Regions from separate parts of the Homo sapiens genome. Here region 1 is linked to region 2. Evidence: promoter capture Hi-C in human tissues and cell types (Jung and others, 2019). All regions are on one chromosome and are shown on one strand. The core of a region is centred on a gene start or on the middle of the fragment in contact, and the rest is flanking DNA. Distances in the headings are between cores, read along the strand shown. Region 1 overlaps LOC124904265 (a long non-coding RNA gene). Region 2 holds the start of CTAGE1 (cutaneous T cell lymphoma-associated antigen 1).

What was found. The method cuts DNA at HindIII sites, captures the fragments that hold promoters and counts their contacts. A contact is called where the count stands out against the background at its distance.
Region 1: a contact is called between a fragment that was not itself captured here and the fragment with the promoter of CTAGE1 in region 2, in 1 of the 25 tissues and cell types used here (mesenchymal stem cells).

The regions. Positions count from the first base shown.
Region 1 is chr18:22,546,687-22,551,305 of GRCh38, forward strand. The region is part of intron 2 of LOC124904265 (a long non-coding RNA gene); the gene reads left to right. Among named protein-coding and RNA genes, the nearest start is that of CTAGE1, 130 kb to the left of the region's middle. The HindIII fragment of the contact is 8,698 bases long and covers 1-4,619 here.
Region 2 is chr18:22,416,330-22,421,371 of GRCh38, forward strand. It overlaps CTAGE1 (cutaneous T cell lymphoma-associated antigen 1), which reads right to left and starts at 1,586. Exons shown (of 1, transcript NM_172241.3): 1 at 1-1,586. The coding sequence starts at 1,482. It also overlaps the pseudogene ATP7BP1. The HindIII fragment of the contact is 3,989 bases long and covers 1-2,239 here.

The DNA.
Region 1 (4,619 bases), core at 1,057-3,556, 130 kb after region 2:
GATTAGTTTTTAAAGGGAGGTTAAATCTGTTTGAACCTTGGCAAATTTGTTACTATAACCGTAGCATAGTTGTACGTGAAAACCAAATATTATTGTCCTTTATTATTCTGCTTTGTCTCCCATGTTTTTCCCATGGCTCTTAAAACAAAAGTGCTCAGCCAGGTTCTCACCCTTTGTCACTGAATGGAATGCATATTTTTGAAGGCTGATATACAGCTTAAAAAGGCAGCCGAATTTATATGTGATTTGAATAGTTGGCACCGTCATGCCAACTACTAGCGCTATCTATTCAAAAGGCAGCATCATTTTTCCTAAGGCCTTTCCTATGGTCTGTTTTCTAGGGCAAGTTGTCTCTCCATGGTGTCTGCTGCCTTCTCATACTCTTGGCTGACTTATATTCATTCCCTGGACACTCGGGAACACACTCCCAGAGCAGCCAGATTCAGAGTCAGTTTGTCCTTCATAGATAGGCAGTAAAACATTCCAATGTAGTTCCTCTGAGAGGGCTAGAATCGCTCGAGTTCTCTCCTGCTAGTTTGTCAAAAAAACTCCTGGGTGGACGTTTAACACCAGCAACAGTGCCAAAAATGGAATAGTTTCTCGTAGGAATTATATATGCTTATTCTTAAGGCCATGTAAGTAGACCCAATGAAGGCCTACTATCTTCTTCTTGGACATCACCACGGGATGGTGTGTGTGTGTATGTGTGTGAGTGTGAGTGTGTGTGTGACAGAGAGAGAGACACAAAGAGAGAAAACATAGGAATGCCAGATCCTCTCTTGTCTAATGGACAGTTTTTCAAAAGGAGCAGTGAGAATTCCTGGGGATTCACCGGTCAGTCTCTTCCAGTGTTTATCATCTCACATTACTCTCAGAAGTAACTTGTTAAGAGTAACTCATCTAAGAACAGAAGTTAGTTATACCGAGAAAAATATTCTAGACCTTGATGCCTTTCGTTTTTAATTTCCTTGTGCGTTTTACTTCCCCCAGAGTAGATAAACCGGGGGTGTTCACTAACTGAAGTCAGAAACCTCTCAACTCAAAATGTCTGGGAAGTCCTGTGTTCTGTTAGTTCCAATATACACGCATCAGCCATAAGGGATGTCTAAATAGTGCAAGACAATAAAATCCCTTCATGTTTTCTGTTTTAGGGAAATCCTGCATGGTTGCACTAGGGTCATAAAAAATTACTAATGTGTTTTCTCATGGCGCCGGGCCATCACATGGGCCCTGTGCAGTGGTATTGTATGCGGCCTGTAATCACAAACAAATGTATTCCACAAGCAGATGAGCTGTTATATGAGAAAGTGTGAGAGGTTAGAGCTTGAGCCTTCGTGTCAGCTACGAAGCAGGTCCGCCACAGTGGAAGACCCCTGAGGCCATGCAAATGAAAATGGCAGTTCCTGGGGGGGGGGTGGGGGTGGGAGGAGGACGCCAAGAGGGATGAGGTCACTGCAATAAACATCCAGCTTCCCTCTGAATGGGAAACTAGAAAAGCCTTCAACTATGGCACTACGTGGACTAGGAAAGGAGGTAGAATTTGTGGGTCAGGTGGGGCAAAAAGTGGAAATCCCCGTAGAGAGGAGACAAGTGACATCAGCGGGTGTCCCAGAAGGAGGGGTAGCTGAACAGGGAGCCAGCAGGCCTGGAGGCAGCCTCTATCAGTGAGGGAGATGGGCTGTCTGCTTCTGCCAACACTCCTGTGAGATGTCTAGCGTGAGGGGACACACAAGGGGGCAAGTTGTCAGTATGACACCCAGGCTTGCCATCACTGCAGGCCTCACTTGGAAGGACATTTATAATACTTTCCAGGACCAAGCATCATTCTGTCCAGGCAAAAAGAAATTCCATTAAAAAGTTGATGTATTTTGTCTTTGCCCCCGAAAAGGAATGTTCAAGCTATAAACAGTGACATTTCTTCATGTGAGTTCCTGTAAAAAAAAAAAAAAAAAAAAAAGAAAGAAAGAAAGAAAAAAAAAAGGGAATGCTTTCCAGAATTCTTAGAGGTAGAAAACTACTCCATACAAGCAATACGGCCAAATCCAAAATGCATTTACACAGAAGCAGTGTTGCAGAGTAGAAATGCACAGATTAAAAGCCTTCGCTCTCCTGCTCCCTGACTGATTTTGAGCAAGTTACTTATGGTTCCCAAACCCCAGCTTCCTTCTCAGGAAACAAGGGTAGTAATATCTGCCTTAAGGATTGTTGTAAAAATAAATCTCACAATTTAATCGCCACCCTTATGCCAACAACTTCTAGGTATTTTTCTCTCTGCTCACATTTCTCTCCTGAGCTCTGGATCCATAGACTCTCTCCCATGATTCTCAGGCTCTTCCAATCAAATGTCCAAAACCAGAATCATCTTTGCTTCCTCCAGCCTCACAGATCTGTTTTCTACTCAGCTAAGGTGCCACATGCATCGCCAGAAAACTTAGGCATCTCCCTAATATCTTCTTCTCCAACACCACTCTCACCTCAAATAAATCGCCAAATCCTTTTGATTGCAACTCTTTCAAATTTTCTAGCTGTCTCCATCCCTAGATCAGGTGCCATCATTTCCTCCTAGATCATCGCAGCAGTCTCTTTGCCTCTCACCTTGGCTTCTCCTCCCAGCCTATTCTCCACACTCCCTCCAGAAAGATCTTTGGCAAGAGCGAGTGGGCTTGGTCCTCTCCCCAGCTTAAATGGCTTCCCAGTGCCCTCAGGGTATTTCTTACCCTGGCTTGCCAAGCTCTTGTCAGTTCCTTTCTTACCACTCTACCTCCTATCTTTAGTCTCCACAGCTCCTGGCACTTTAGTTCCCTTTAGCCACGTCGGACTTTCTTGACTTGCTCTTATCTTCGGTTCTTTGCAGAGGTTGTTCTCTCTGCCTGAAATTGGCTTTTTTCCTGCTGTCTCCTCTCCTCTTATCTGACTAATTGCTACTCATGCTTCAGGTCCAAATTTAGATATCACCCCTCCAGAGCCTTTGTGCCCACAAGGCTGAATAGGGGTCCCTCTTATGTCCTGCCACGATACCTTGTACTCTCCCTATCATAAGCACATGGATGTCATCGTACTGGGCTTGCCCATGGACCTGCCAGTCTCTTCCAATTGAGAGCACACTCTTTGAGGACAAGGGTTGGCAGCAATGTATCTTCAGTGACATGTGCCAGACCACTCAATAATCATGTGGGAAGGGAGGGAGAGAGGGTGGGAGAAAGGAATAACATGACATGTTAAGCACCTAACACAGAATCAGTCACATATCAGCAATTATTAGTCTCCACTTTATGTTAATAAGCCATACATGTCTACTTTTCTTAATCAGGCCCCATAATTAGTTTTTTATGCTCAGCAAACTGGTGAAGTCCCTTCAGAGCTAGATCCGTTATATCTCTACAGTGAGCCAAGTGTCCCCACGGCAAAATTGTCTTAGATTTAGTCCCACTGACAATGAATTTAAAGTATTTAGGAAAACTTTGCTAAAATGTCCTGAACACATTGGATTAGGGGACTGGAATTCGGGGTAGGGGGTTAATGCCTTTCCTTTACCCTACTTTTCTCTTCCTCTTCTTCCTCCTCTTTCTTCTTTTTCTCTCTTAATCAGAGTCACAGAGAAATCCTGGAAGAGAGAGTGTTTAAGCCAATTTGGAAAAGTGTTTCTGCTCCTATGTTCTTGGGATCTTAGAACACAGAAGGCTCTATAAGTTTCAGAAGGCTCCAGATTAGAGGTTGAAACCTTAAAACTTAACCCCATTCCTCTATGACATGACTGGGGAAACCTCCCTTCTTTCTCCAAACCTTGCTCATCCCCTCCCTAAGAGAAATAACATAACTAGAAACCAGGACTTGCCTCATCACTGTTGAGACGCCCCCATTATTTGCTGCAAGCACCGTGAGTCAGGGCAGAGTGATCTTGTTCACTGCACAACCTCAGCACAGTGCCTGGGACAGAAGAGCTGCTCAGAAAACACCTGTTGAACAAATGTGTCAAAGGAATGTTCCTTCCTCTCCTATAGGAACTCCTGGGTGTAGGAAAAGTGGGTATCTCATTTCATAGAAGGAGATCAAATCAGAGAAGTTATAGGGGCCAGGTCATGGAAGGCCTTGGAAGTCATTGTAAAGACTTTCGTCTCTTACCCTGAGTGAGATGGGGACTATTGGAGAGTTTTGTGCAGAGAAGTGACATGAGATGACATAAGTTTAAAGGATCCGTGTTATGGGTAGACTTTAGAAGTACAAGGGAAGAAGCAGGGATACAGCTATTGCAATCATCCTGGAAGGAATCATGGTGGTCTGGCCAGGGTAGAAGCAGTGGAGGTAATAAGAGGGGACATATTCCAGATATATTTCAAAGGAAGCACCAACAAAATTTCCTGACAGATGGGATGTGGTGTGTAAGAGAAAAAGAGGAGTCAAAGATGACTCTAAGTGTTTTAGCCAGAACATCTGGAAGCAAGAGTTGCCATTTCTTGAGGTGGATCACAAACAGATTTGAAGAAAGGATGAGGAACTTGGTTTGGCCTTCAATGTTAGGTGATTGAGAAGATAAAGAAGAACCAGTAAAGGAAAACAAGAACAGCCAGTGAGGCAGGAGGAAAGCCAAGTGAGTGTGATGACCCAGAGGTCAAGTAAAG
Region 2 (5,042 bases), core at 336-2,835:
ACCCAATGGTGAGGGACCATATGGGGAATGCTGTCTGCCAAATGCTGTATTTGGAACATCAAGTCCATAAGGATCTTTTTCTAAAAGTTTTATTTTAAACTCTATTTCAGTTAATTTTTGTCTGTTGTGAGCATTTTCTTTCCTTAAATCATTGAGGTTTCTTTCAGCAGTCCAAGCTGCCGACCAATTATCATGTGCTTTTTTCTCATGGAGAATAATCTTCTTTTGATAAAAATGAATAGTTTTCTCAAATTCTTTAAGATCTTTGGCTCGCTTTCGGTAGGTCTCCAGCTCTTCAGTGGCATGGCTGATCATTTCGTCTACTTTAGAAAGTTTCTCTTCTTTCTCTAACCGGCATTTTTCCTCTACTATTAATTTCCTGTAGAGTTTCATTTCATTTTCTTGATATAATTCAGTCATTACTTTAAGTTTCTGCTGAAGCTTCTGATTCTCACTTTCAAAATGTGTGTTTTCTGACTGCAAAGATGCTTGTTCAGTCTGAAGATTTTTAATATGCTCTGTAAGCTCTTCCTTTGTTTTATCAACTTCAGATAATTGAATATAAATTTGGTTTCTTTCTCCTTCTAAGGTTTTTAAGGAAGCATTTAACTTAGCAGCATGAATCAGTTTCTTCAAAGCTCCTTTTGGAGGATTATCTAAGTAAGCACCATCTTCCGATTCACTGTTCATTTCTAATTCCAAGTTATCATCATCCGTTACATCTTCTTCAAGCATAGCAACCCCATCTTTCATCTTTAGCAAGCGTTCAGTCAGAGTCTTGATGTGATTTTCTTTATCATTTAGAACTTGTTCTGCATGTACTTTGGAGTCTTCAAATGTTCTTTTCTGTTTAATAAGTTCACTCACTTGTTCTTTCCATACTTCAGCTTCTTGCAAAAGCTGTTTCTGGCTTTCCTGAAGTTCAGAATTTTCTTTCCAAGCATCTTGTATTTCTATCTCCAACCGTTCTTCATTCGCTTGAAATCTCTTGAAGGTCATTTTGGCTTCAGCTACTTGTGATTTGAGGGATTTTGACTCATCTTCTAGCGACTGTATCCTTTTGGAAATATCCGCCATCAATTCATTTTGTTCAGAATGTTTAGATTTCTCTTCTTTTAACTCTTTTTCTAGACAGAGTATTTCATGCACAAGTTCAGAATTGAACCTGTTCAGCTTTTCGCAGGTTGCCTCCAAACTTTGTGCTTCTGTTGCCTCCTTCTCAAAGCTGGCATTCTTTAAAGATGACTCTACTTCATAGCCTTCATACTCTTTTTGAACAAGGCTAAATTTTTCAAGTAGTTTACATTTTTCTTCAATTAGTCCAGAAAGTGCCACAGCAAACTTTTTCTCTCTTCTCACATAAAGCCGACTCGTAACTGATCTAAAACTTCTCCACAAGAAGAGAACAGCAAAAAATCCAGCAACAGCTGCACGTATCACCAATTCCCATGGAAAACCATAAGGATGAGAATCGGGTCTCATACCTTCAGTCAGTGCTGCCACAACCCTGCGTAGCAACTCCAGGACCAGCCCCAGGTATGGCTGAGGGTTAGCCCTAGGCTCCTCCGTAGCGCCAAGGCTGCTCTGGCGGTTGCTGCAGTAACCTCGGCCACAACAAACGCTGGAGAAGACGCAGCATTCCGTTTGGAACCTGAATCCCTAACGGGCAACCGGAGCGTACCACTGCGGAGCCGGCTGCGGGGGGAGTTAGGGGACGCGGGCACCCGTAGGCCTCACAGACCCACACTGCCCACCCCGGTACCTTTGTTACACTTTACATCCTGAGGAAGCGCTAAAACCTATATTTTAAAACAGTACCACATGGTGAGAAAGACTCAGGTGACCCAGCATCCCAGCTATGCCCATCCCAAGCTGACACCCTAGCTAAATGTAGCCTTGTGCATGACCCCAGGTGGGGCGGGCAGAAGAACCTCCCAGCTGACAGAATGATAAGGAATAACAAATCATTGTTTTAAGTCACTAAGCTTTGGGGTCATTTGTTATGCAGCAGTAGCTAACTGAAATACCTGCCCCCTTATCCCTTTGGTGTTTCAGTATCTGTGGCTGAAATAATGAATTTGGGTGCTTGACTAAGATTATGCCCTATGGTAAATTCTGATAGGTAATTTTATAGCTAAAATACAAATTTTCTGATTGACCTTTGCTTCATTGAAGAGATATTTATTTAGCTCCTCCCAAATGAGACAGATTATGCTTTTTAGATTAACTTCTTCCAGGAAAGGGCTCACCACTCCCTAGCATGAGCCTCAGCTGTCCCATGTACAACTGAAAAACGCTAATCTCATCCCCAGAAGATCCAGGACTCTTAGAACAGTGCTGGCACATAGAGAGTGATTCTCTTACCTGTCCATCAAACTTACCTGCTCTGTGTCCATTTCTGAAACACTGGCACTCCTTCAACACGGATGACGCCTTGCCCTGCAATAAGTCATCATCTCCCGCCCATGCACATATCTTCAACTCATCTGGAAAGCTTGCTCCTGCAGCAATGGGTATGCCCACTAGGTTATAAATCAGCGCCAGGACCAGTTTGATGCATATCCTCTGGACAGTCATCTTGGAAATATGAATGCTAGCCACCACATCCAGCAAATCATTTTTGATGAGGATGACGTTGGCTGCCTCGATGACCACATCCGTGCCAGTGCCAGTGGCAATGCCCAAGTCTGCCTGGGCCAAGGCCAGGGAATCATTGACCCCGTCCCCCACCATGGCGACTTTCTTCCCTTCATTCAGGAGCTCCTGAACCTTGGTCACCTTGTGTGAAGGCAACACCTCTGCAAAGACTTTGTTGATGCCAACCTGGGTGGCAAAGGCTCTGACTGTCTTCCAGTTGTCCCCCGTGATCAGAATCACGTTCACATGCATGCTTTGCAGCATGTGCACAGCCAGGGCAACCTCCTGCTTGACAGTGTCTGTGACAGCCATCATTCCACAGAGCACACCTCAACAACTTGCACAAGCACCAGCTCCCTTTGCCATCTTCCGCCCGCATATTTGTATAGTTCTTATATTTTCATTATTAAAAGACAACAAGCTGACTGCATTAGAATTTAAAGGCCTCTGGGTGACAAAACCGTTATAAGCAAAATAAGTAACAGATTTGGAAAATATATGCAACATATAAATTGACAAAGGAATAATATTCAGAATATATAAAGAACTAGGCTGGGTGCGGTGGCTCATGTCTATAATCCCAGCACCTTGGGAGGCCAAGGCAAGAGGATCACTTGAAGTCAGGAGTTCAAGGCCAGCCTGACCAACATGGTGAATCCCCGACTCTACTAAAATTACAAAAATGAGCCAGGTGTGGTGGTGGACGCTTGTAATCCCAGCTACCCAAGAGGTTGAGGTAGGAGAATCTCTTGAACCTGGGAGGTGGAGGTTGCAGTCAGCTGAGATTGCACCACTGCACTCCAGCCTGGGCAACAGAGCAAGACTTTGTCTCAAAAGAAAAAACAAAAGAACTACAAATCATTAATAAAAATATAGTTAATTGAGTAGAAACAGTAGACAAAAGTATGTACGAAGAGACAGGCAATTCTAGAGGAGGGAAATAAAATGTCCAGTGAACAGATAAAATGATACTCAACTTCACTAATTAAAAAAAAGCAAATTAGAACAATAGGGTATGCATTCTACTTCTGGAAAGATGAAGTAGAAGTATTTCCCCCCATTTCTCCTGCTAAGTACAGCTAAAAACCCTGGACAGTAGATATAAAACAACATGAGAAGACTGAACAGTGGAGAGAAGAAGGTAGACCAGCTAGAGATCTCAAAACCCAAGAAACAATATGGTGGTGAGTTCCGTGGGTTTTATTTTTGTCCCAAAGACGAGATGCTAAAGAAGTGGGCAACCAGTAAATGCCATAGACACAGAGCAGGGAAAGCCTGTCTCTCTGGTCAAAAGCCCATAAGAGGGGCAGGCTAGCAAGACAGAAAACTCTTAGGCATGAACTGATCTTTCCCAGCAGACACCACAGAAAAAAACTGTGGCCCACTCCATCTCTACCAGCAAAGTGCAAGAGGGTAACTTAAACTTCCACTCTGGACAAGCTCTACTGAGCACCCCTTGCTTCCCCACAACCCTTCCCCCGTGATATGATTGTTTGTGTCCCCATTCAAATATCATCTTGCACTGTAGTCCCCAATGGAGGGATCCAGTGGGAGGTGACTGGATCATGGGGGCAGTTACTCCCATGCTGTTTTTGTGAAAGTGAGTTCTCATGAGATCTGATGGTTTTATAAGGGGCTTTTGCCCTTTGCTCAGCACTTCTCCTTCCTGCTGCCATGTGAAGAGGGATGTGTTTGCTTTCTCTTCCACCATGATTGTAAGTTTCCTGAGGCCTCTCCATCAATGCTGAACTGTGAGTCAATTAATCCTCTTTCCTTTATAAATTACCCAGTCTCAGGTATGTTTATTAGCAGTGTCAGAACAGACTAATACACCTTGTTGAGGTGATGTCAGAGAAGGCCAAGGGAGGAGTCTGGTCTGGACTTTGTCCCCTCCTGGTGGTAATGAACCACTTTCATGTCCTTCATCAGGACCACTTGGGGAGCCTGAACTCTCACCCGCTATGTAAGGACTCATATCTAGAATACACAGATTTATAAAGGACATTCAAATATCAACTGTAAAAGAAACACGAACAATCCAATTATAAAATGAGCAAAAGATATGAAAAGACACTTTACAAAGTAGACATACAGATGGCAAATAAGCTCATGAAAAGTTGTTCAGCATCACTGGCATTTAGGGAAATGTGAATTAAGACCAGCAAACAATACCACCACACACTAATTAGAACAGCTAAAATAAGACTTAGTGGCAACACCAAATGGTGGCAAAAATGTGGAGAAATTGATCTCTCACACATCACTGGAGGGAATATAAAATGATACAACCACTCTGGAAAATGGTGTGCCCGTTTCTTAAAAAACTAAACATATGCTTATGATGTGACCTAGCCCTCACTGCACCCCTGGCATTTCCCAGAGAAACAAAAACTTGTGTTCCCACA